Linked DNA regions of Homo sapiens: region 1 is linked to region 2. Evidence: promoter capture Hi-C in 16 types of primary human blood cells and fetal thymus (Javierre and others, 2016). All regions are on one chromosome and are shown on one strand. The core of a region is centred on a gene start or on the middle of the fragment in contact, and the rest is flanking DNA. Distances in the headings are between cores, read along the strand shown.

The links. Contacts are between HindIII fragments. The CHiCAGO score rates a contact against its expected background, and 5 or more counts as called.
Region 1: a contact is called between a fragment that was not itself captured here and the fragment with the promoter of IHH in region 2, in 1 of 17 cell types (M2 macrophages). The highest score is 5.7, in M2 macrophages.

Annotation. Positions count from the first base shown.
Region 1 is chr2:219,264,878-219,269,511 of GRCh38, forward strand. It overlaps TUBA4B (tubulin alpha 4b), which reads left to right. Exons shown (of 4, transcript NM_001355221.1): 2 at 1,644-1,689. Among named protein-coding and RNA genes, the nearest start is that of DNAJB2, 12 kb to the right of the region's middle. The HindIII fragment of the contact is 2,144 bases long and covers 2,120-4,263 here.
Region 2 is chr2:219,058,868-219,063,887 of GRCh38, forward strand. It overlaps IHH (Indian hedgehog signaling molecule), which reads right to left and starts at 2,054. Exons shown (of 3, transcript NM_002181.4): 1 at 1,286-2,054. The coding sequence starts at 1,600. LOC124906120 (a long non-coding RNA gene) reads left to right here and starts at 2,826. Exons shown (of 3, transcript XR_007088092.1): 1 at 2,826-5,020. The HindIII fragment of the contact is 5,239 bases long and covers 484-5,020 here.

The DNA of each region.
Region 1 (4,634 bases), core at 1,942-4,441, 210 kb after region 2:
ATTTGAGGCTAGTGGCCATGCGTTCGAAACATCAGTCAGCATGGTTCTGGATTTTTCTATGGCCACTGTTTAGCTGGGTGAGTGCAGACACAGAGCTGGGGACAAAACAAATTTAACCAGGGTTCTGGTTTAGTCAAACAAGGATGTTGAAGCTAGTGGGAGGCAAGACAGTTGAGGGGTACAAAAGGGAGTGACCCTGGCTGGCCATGGAACTGAAGACTGGGAGGAAGGAGATAAAGACCGAGGAGGGGCTGCTGTGCACACTCTGCCATGTGGAAAGAGGGGAAGCAGAGCCCGAGTCCCAGATAAATCTTAATTCCAGCATTAATTAATCCCCATGTGACCTCAGGCAGGACACTAGGGATTTCAATTTCCTTTCCTTCATCCTGGGAAAGGGAGGCCCTGCCTTGCCTACCTTACAGAGTTGTTGAGGGATTCAAAGGAGGTACGGAGAGAAGGTGCCTTAAGCATAAAGCAGACTAGGCGCAGGGGCTCATGCCTGTAATCCCAGCACTTTGGGAGGCTGAGGCAGGTGGATCATCTGAGGCCAGGAGTTTGAGACCAGCCTGGCCAACATGGTGAAACCGTGTCTCTACTAAAAATATAAAAATTAGCCAGGCCTGGTGGCAGGTGTCTGTAATCCCAGCTACTCAGGAGGCTGAGGCAGGAGAATCGCTCGAACCCCGGAGGTGGAGGTTGCAGTGAGCTGAGATTGCACCACTGCACTCCAGCCTGGGCAACAGAGCAAGACTCCTTCTCAAAAGAAAAAAAAAAAGATGCATAAAGCAGGATACAAATGCTAGAGACTAGCCTTTTTATTTCAGAATTTTGCCTAAGACTATCGGGAGACTCCTTTTCTGGGGACATAAGGCCAGGCTAGAGCAGCAGTGACTTGCCATGGCCTAGGAAGAGACATTTAGGAAGTGCCTTGAGGCCCTGCTCATCCTCTTGCTTTGCCCTTGGAGAGCAACAGCTGTTTTGGACTAAGCACTTAAGAAAGGTTACCTTGTTAGTACCTCGTAATACTACCTCTCCCCATTCTCCAGAGAGAGAAAAAAAAAGAAGTTTTAATTGCTAGTAGCTATTAGAGGTGGGATTAAAACCAAGCTCTAGGTCGCTTGTTCTATGATATTCTGAGTTTCCAGGCAGGATGTCCTGAGGCTTGATCTCTTGGCCGAGGACTCATTATTTCTGGATCATTGCAGAGATCTTCTTAGTCCCACCCACAGTCGACTTACAGCCCTCAGCAACCCTAGGGCAGGGGAGTGCAGGGGTTTGATGGGTGGGGGCGGTGCTGGAGCTCAGGGTCTTGATTTCTAAATCATCTTCCACCTGTGAAGTGCAGGCTGTGCCACCAGGAAATGGGATTGCGTGACTGACAACAGATACCATGTACCCAGAGGCCTGGATACCTGTGTGGAGTTACTAGCCCTGGCCCCTCCTCTGCCCACCTCAGCTGGCTCCCCTGTTTGGGTGCAGGCCCAGAGCTTGCCTCGTACTCTGTGACCAAGTCAACAGGCCCTGCCCTCCCAGGCCGTTTCTAACAACATCCACCTGCTGAGAGCCACCCAGCGAGTATAAGGAGGAGGCTGGCTGGCCGCTGCAGGCCTCTCACAGATCTATCCCTGCTCACTATCCTGCAGCAGACAGAGAGACAAGACCCCAGCCAGCCCCTGTCCAGGCAGCATGGTGAGTAGAAGGGGCCTTGGGGGGACTGAGCATGCAAGTGAGGGTCCCAGTGGGCCCAAGATATCTGGCGTGAAGGTACCTTGGGAGTCCACATGGTGATGGGGCTACAGTATGTGGCGAGGTGGGGAGAGGGAAAGAGACTTCCAGATGTGGCTGTGGCCCCCAAATGTGCAGGTGTGGGGGGCATCACAGGGGGTAGGGAAGGAAAGTTTAATGGTAACCAGGTTGTGGGGCTGAGCCTAGGCTGAGAAGCAGGGCTGCTGAGGGGGTCTGAATTTAGGTGTGGGGAGTGTGGGGGAAGCAGGACTTGAGCAGAAAGTGTAGGCGATTTCCTCTGCTGGCTGAGGATCTCCAGACCCTGGGCCTTGCCACAGGTTCACTGTTGGGCTCTGATCCCACCTTCCCACCATGGGGACACATCCTCCATGGAAGCTTCTCCCCTCTGGTTCCTCCCTCCACCCTGCCCATCTGCTGTGCCTTTGTCTGACCTCTCATGTCAGTTACAGATCAGTGGGGAGAAGAAGGAGGAGGGAAAAGGGGGTGCTCCCATCTGTCAAGAGCTGGCTGTGCCTGGGGCTTATTTGATATCTTTTACCCACCTCCCTACCAGGCAGGATAGAAGAACAGTTAAGAGCATGGTTGGTGCCAGGCCATCCCTGCTCTAAATATTCTTGGTTTTGCTCATGGCCTTGAGCAAGCTACTTGACTTCTCTGAGGGTCGGTTTCCTCATCTATAAATTGGGGGTAATAAAACTACCTACCTAAGGTGAATGTGGTAAAGATTAAATGAGATAATGTGTATAAAGTGCCACCTTCACCTGGCACCTTATTAGTGCTTAATAAGCAGAACTAAGCAATGTAACAACACAGGCCGCCGGCTATGAGATTCTTCTCTTTCTACAGTCATGAAAAAGGTGCTAGGGAAGCTGAGGTGAAATGACTTGTATTGGATCACAGAGAGATGGGGGTTTGAGGCCAGGTCTGTGTGACTCCAGAGGCTGAGTTCTTTTTTTTGTTTTTTTTTTTTTGAGACGGAGTCTCATTCTGGAGTGCAGTGGCGCAATCTCGGCTCACTGCAACCTCTGCCTCCCGGGTTCAAGCGATTCTCCTGCCTCAGCCACCCAAGTAGCTGGGACTACAGGCGCTTGCCACCACATCTGGCTAATTTTTGTATTTTGAGTAGAGACAAGGTTTCACTATGTTGGCCAGGATGGTCTCAATCGCCTGACCTTGTGATCTGCCCACCTCGGCCTCCTAAAGTGTTGGGATTACAGGCGTGAGCCACTGCACCCGGCCAGGGGCTGAGTTCTTTGCCCCAAAACTGCTGCCTCCAGTGTGAGACATCATTCCCAGAGGGGCCAGAGACACCTTGCATGGGCTAGTAGTTCTGGGGGCCAGGACGATGTCTGGGTCTGTGGACAGAACTGGCTGGTCAGGCTCAGAGGTGCAGCACCAGGCAGGTGATTGGTGAGCCAAGGCAGCCCCAGGATTGGACCTGGGATTTCTCCTGTCCTTGAGGTCTCAGCTCAACTCATTATCTTTTTTTTTTTTTTTTTTTTTGAGATGGAGTCTCACTCTGTTGCCCTGGCTGGAGTGCAGTGATGCAATCTCGGCTCACTGCAACCTCCACCTTCTGGGTTCAAGCAATTCTCCTGCCTCAGCCTCCCGAGTAGCTGGGATTATAAGCATACACCATTTTTGTATTTTTAGTGGAGAGGGGGTTTCACCATGTTGGTCAGGATGGTCTCGAGCTCCTGACCTCAAGTGATCCACCTGCCTTGGCCTCCCAAAGTGCTGGGATTACAGGCTTGAGCCACTGCGCCCAGCCTCAATTCATTACCTTCTCTTACTATGACATCAGGGATTGAGGGTGGGAAATTGGAAGGGGAACCCAACATGCATGGCACACCCTAGTGTGTGTTAGGCAGTGGGCCAGGCACTTTGCATGCATTCTTTCATTTAATTCTCATAGTTTTTCTAGGAGGGGCTCTTATTATTGTCTACATTTCAAAAGGAGAACATTGACAAAGAGGTTAAGATTTTTGCTCAAGACAAGTAGAGAAGTAATTGGGCTGGAATACAGATTATTTATGGATTAATCTCAGTCATCTAAAAATCATGAAAAGTCAGGCCTTTGTGTTATATAAAAATAGTCAATGAAGTGTTACATTTTTGGAGAAGTCATCCTCATTAAACAATTAAGAAATATTTCAGGAATGCAAAAAGGTATAAATAATAACATGATAGGCTGGGCGGCGGTGGCTCATGCCTGTAATCCCAGTACTTTGGGAAGCCAAGGCAGGTAGACTGCTTGACCCCAGGAGTTTAAGACCCACTTGGGAAAGATGGCGAGACCTGTCTCTACAAAAAAATTTAAAACTTAGCCAGGCATGGTGGTGCATGCCTGTAGTCCCAGCTACTCGGGAGGCTGAGACAGGAGGATCCCTTGAGCCCAGGAGTCCAAGACTGCTGTAGTTAACTATGATCACATCACTGTACTCTAGCCTGGGTGACAAAGTGAGATTCTGTCTCAAGAAAAAAAGAAAAGAATAATGTGATGAACAGCAGCTATCAAGCTTGAGAAATAGAATCTGTCTCCAATTGCATCTATCTGCTTCCCCTGCCAGAGAGCACCATTATTCCAAATTTGGAGTTAATGTCTCCTGTGCTTTATCTTTGTACTATTTTCCCTTGCTTCCCTCACCAATGGCTCCTAATTTCTTTCTGGACACTGGTGGGTAGATTATCTTGCACTTCTAGATTCATTCGATTCCTTCAATGTTGCTCATTGAGACAGGCACTGAGCAAGAGTCTATAATCTCAGGACTGCCCGCATCTTCTGCTTCCCCCAATGATTTTGGCCCAGCCCCTACAGCCGATGCCTGTTGCTCCTCAGTGCCACCAGTAAATGCTTAGATGCAGGAGGCGAGGCAAGCAGAGTAGAG
Region 2 (5,020 bases), core at 804-3,303:
GCAGCTACAACCCAGGGCCTCGCAGGTCCTCGCTGGTGCACAGCCTGGCTGGGGGTGCTTACTGCCCAGGGAGGGAGCTCCGCTTGCTCCTTCGTAGACCCTGCCGTCAGGCTTCTAGCCCCGCACCTATGCCCGCCTGCAGCCCTGGTTCCCCGCCTCTCTCCCTCACTGCCACCGCCCCCTCTCGGGTCCAGAGCCCGGGCGTGCGCTGTCAATGATTGCCCAGCCCGTGGCCCGGATCCTTATCTGCATTCCTCGGCGCCCGGCCCGGCCCGGCCACCAGCCAACCTTCGGCCCCGACACTGGCCGGCCAGCCCCGGCGCCAGGGTGCATGCTGAGGGCCCTGAGTCTAGCTGCTCTTCCCAACGGATCTAGAAAGCCAGGGGCCTGCTTTCAGGGGGAAGCCTCGGGAGACCCCGAAGGAAGGGGGTGAAGGTCTCTCCCCTCGCGGACCTGGCTGCTGGGAAGGAATTTGCGCCTCTAAGCTTGGGTGGAGCGCGGGTCCTACTCCAGCATGCAGAGACTAGCGTCAGCCCTGGTCCCTGCCTCCCTCGGCATCTCAGCCCCTCTTTTCCACTCCTTCCCGTCCCCACCACCAAGCCCAGGAATCCCCTAAGCTCAGTCCCAGAGCCCGAAGGCCCCAATAACCCACCCTTCCACCGCAGTAGCACCCCTCAGCTCTCCGGACAGACACGTGGGCTCGCTGGGCAGGTTCCTTTTCCCACCTCCGCCTCCCGATTCAACTCTTCCTCGCTGTTCTTAACCCCAGACCCAGCCGGGACGCTGCTCCTGGAAGGGGCAGCCCGTAGAACCAAGAGCGCACAGGGAGGAAAGGCCGTGGTGACCCTACGCACCCAGAGATTCTTTGCCTCAGGGGTGCCGAAAAGTTTCAAAATGAAAGGGGCACAGCTGTGCAGAAGGTTAGGCCGGGAGGGACTGCGTGGGTCCTGGAGGCGCAGGAGGCAGCCGGGTAGAGGTACCTCCGGGTGCAGCGTCTGGCTGAGCTGCCAGTACTTTGGGGCAGAGGAGCCGCCGCCAACCTGCTGGGCTGTGGGGCTTGGCAGCGGGGAGCTCTTCTAGCAGTCTCCTCCGGGCTTGGGGATGCCGACACTCCTGCCTGGACCCCTGGCCAGCCCATCTTGGGCAGGAGGCAGCGGGGCTTGGCGAGAGGGGCAGGTGCCAGGGAGCGTGCCAGCCAGTCGAGAAAATGTGCCAGGGGGTGGGTAGGGCCGGGCAGGTGGCCGTGCTTCGGTGGCGGCGCGCTGGTAGGGCGGATCGCGCTCACCTGGGTCATGAGGCGGTCGGCGCCTGTGTTCTCCTCGTCCTTGAAGATGATGTCTGGATTGTAATTGGGGGTGAGCTCCTTGAAGCGCTCGGAGCTGCGAGCGATCTTGCCTTCATAGCGTCCGCTGGCGCCCAGGGTCTTCTCGGGCACATTGGGGCTGAACTGCTTGTAGGCGAGCGGCACGAGTTTGCGTGGCGGTCGCCGGCGGCTGCCCACCACCCGACCCGGCCCGCAGCCCCATGCCGCCGGCACCACCAGCAGCAGCAACAGGACCAGGCAGAAGTGCAGTCGGGGCCGGAGCCGGGCGGGAGACATGGCCGGGGAGCCCGGGGGAGCGGCGGGCGAGGTCTCCTGGTGGGCTGATGGGCAGGCGCGTCGACGGGAGCGCTGCGGGGGCTCAGGCGTCCGGGTGGCTCCGGGGGGCTCCAGGCGGGGGCGCCATGGGCGGCGTGGTGCGGCCAGGGCCGGCGGGACTCAAGTGCGGGGCGGGGGCCCAGGGCCCGAGCTGGTGGCGGCGCGCTGTCCCCCTCGGCGCCTCGACTCTGAGCTGCCGGGCTCGCCGGCCGCCAATAAATAGGCCGGCCCGTTTGTTTTGGCAACGCGGCGGCGGCGGGGGGCGGCGGGCGGCGGGGCTGCGGGCCGCCGGGCTGGGCTGGGCTGGCCGGGCCGGCGGGCTGCAGGGCCCCGCGGTTAGCACCCCGGCCCGGCGGTCAGGCGGCTCGGGCGGAGCGGGAGCTGCTGCCGTCTGCGGCGCAGCCCGGGGCCGAGTGAGAGGGGAAATGGAAGAGATCCGGGCTCGGGCCCCGCGCAGACCGCACCCTACCCATGTCCCTGCCTCCTGTGCGCTCGACAGCGAACCTGCAGCAAGGGCAGCACAGCCTCCTCCCCCTCGGGCGGGCGGCCCCGGCACTAGCCAGCCCTCGTCCCGCTCGCGCCTCCGCCGCGCGTCCGCCCGCCCGCTGCCCTCTGCGCCCCCTGCGCTGCCCGAGTTTGCCCTCCCCGCCTGGACGCGCCCCACCCCGCCCTGGCCTCGCCTACCGGCTCTTCGCGGCTCTGGGGTGCCCCGCCAGGCGCAAACCTCCCGGACAGGAGCTGCCACCCCCACGGAGACCGCAACCCACGGCGCGGCCGGACGCGAGGGGCGGGGGGCAGTGGCCGGACCGCACAGCCGCCTACGGTGTCCCCTGCGGGGAAGCAAACCCAAAAGGCAGGAGGCCACTCATAACCTGGTGCCCCACCCTGGCCCGGGCGACGCGCCCTTTCAGCTTGGTGGAGCTGGGTTCTGTATCAACCTGGTGCACATCCCACAGCCTGCCTGTCGGTGTCAAACTGGGGATGGGGAGTCTAGCCTTTTGAAGAGTCAAATAGGGGGTTTTAAGTTGGAAACACTGTTGAAAGTGACAATATGAAGTTGCAAAGGGATAGGTCAATATGCAGAGAAGGGTAGCTAAAATGGTGACGTCAACAGAATACCGAGGAACCCCGACTGACCATGTTAAAGAGGGGCAGCAAAGATCTCAGTAACGGGGGCTTGGTATGAATGCCAAAATGATGCAAAGCCACCGGAACTGCTAAATAATTACTTGGTTCTATATTACACATCTAAAAGAGCAGAGAATATGTAGAAACAACTAGGAACGTGAACATGTGTTATGTGTTTTTATATGACATTCGAGAAAGCTGAATGAATTAGGATCCCTTCTGCCAAAACAAGTAAAGGCAAGTGTGTTAAAAAGCAAACAAAAAACATCACCACCACAACACCAAACTATATGATTTGACTGTAATAGATTCTACAAATCCAATAAAGGTAGAAATGAAAAGATGAGAAATAAAAAGACTTAAAAATTCTCACTCAAATGCTATTAATACAATAGGTACCATTTTATTGGTACTTATATTCCTGAACATGGTAGTTATTAGATATTATTGTACTATGTCTTCTACTTGCATTATCTAATTTAAACTCGAAACGGCCAAAGGAGCTATTACTGTCCACATTTTACGAATGAAGATATTGAAGTTCAGAGAAGATGAACAACTTGCTAGTGGCTGAAAAGCAGGGATTGAAGCCCATGACTCTGGCCCAGCCCCAGTTTTTGCCCATGCAGGTGCATTGTCCCTCTGTGCAGGACCAGTCCACTCAACACCACTGGGTTCGGGGCTGAAGTAGCTGTTCACAGATTTACTCACACTCTCTGGATCGGTTTTATAAACACAAATTCAGGATTGGATGAGACTCAAGAGAGTGCTTAATCTAAGCGCTTGATATTACAGAAAAGGAAACTGAGGCCCACAGAAAGAAATTTAGGATTGCTCCACTAGGAGTGGAGTGGTGCCTGCAATGTGGAAACAAAATGGATCGCCTCCTTTCCTCCCCTTTGCCCGCACCTTCTCCCCACCCCGCATGTTCTCTCTTGCATTAGCATTCAGATTCTGTTTCCTAGTCAAAGATGAATGTTGCTTCTTTTCCCTGAAAGCCTTCCAAGTGCTTTAACTTGTATTTTCCAGGGCTCAAGAACTATCTCTGCGATATTCTCCATCCCCTTTCCCTCCTGCCCCTCTACCTCAGATTTCTGGAACAGGGTCAGTACCTCTCACAAACCAAACAGGGGCTCTCTGTTTTTATGGAGTTCCATGAAAGAAAATTCCATAGGCTTCTGCGGTCACCTATCCCACTGTTTAATAATATTCTTCTAGAGAAATTTCGCCTTAAATTTAATCTATCTCCCTCCCTCTCTAATGCAAATTCAACTCGTTCCTCTTTTTCTGGCCTTAGGGATTAGGGCCATTATCCTGCTGATTATCCTTCATGCATTGTCTTGAAGAGTTGTTAAATTGCTTTCAATCTTCTTTTCTCCAAGTAAAAGACAATTTCTTTAAGTTCTCTCAGAGGTTCTAATTTATAACCATTTATTAGCTTTTCCATTCTTCCTCTCATTTCTCCTCTCTCAGACTGTAATTCTAACCTATTAAATACAAATCTGGTAAAGATCTGATCCATGTCAAATAAGTTTTTATGCTATAAGTACTCCCATAGCTTGCCATCAGGTGTGCCTCTGCAGCAGAGCCACCTCGTTGGTTGAGACTGGGCTTCACCAAGACCAGACCCTCCTCTGCCAGGCTAATTTAGGAACAGTGATTAGGGTGTGTGCTGGAGAAGCAGAGGGAGACCAGCGTGTATCAAGTCTTTTCTCTCTGCCAGGTGCTTTACACAATTAGTAAAATCTCCACAATAATCCTCTGTGCATGACATTATTCTCATTTTACAAATTTATAACTCCAAGATCTAGATGCCAAGTAACTTGCCTGGGGTCCCAGAGCTAAAATTTGAACCCAGAGCTTTTGCACTCCAAAGCTATACTCTTTTCTCAGGACATAATGGTGCTCCAAGATCTGAATCTCAAATTTGGGTCAACATCAGTCCAACCTCCTTCAGTGGAGGAAGGATGGAGACTGGGAGCACCATAATTTCTACAGCAGTGACCTGGAGCACTTTAAATCCAACCTGGGGCCTCAGTATCCGGGTCATTTCTTGGCTGCCTATGTTCTTAGCTGTTCAGTAGGTGTTGGGTGGCTTTTAAACTGGGCTAGTAGCTCCTTAGACCTATCAAACAAGGCCTGGTTCTTTTTCTGATCATTGCCAGCCTCTGTCAGCAGTATTAAAATTGGACGGGGGCAGAGTATGCCACTATGGAAGCTCCAGTGGCATACAGCCTGGGACATGTGACCTCA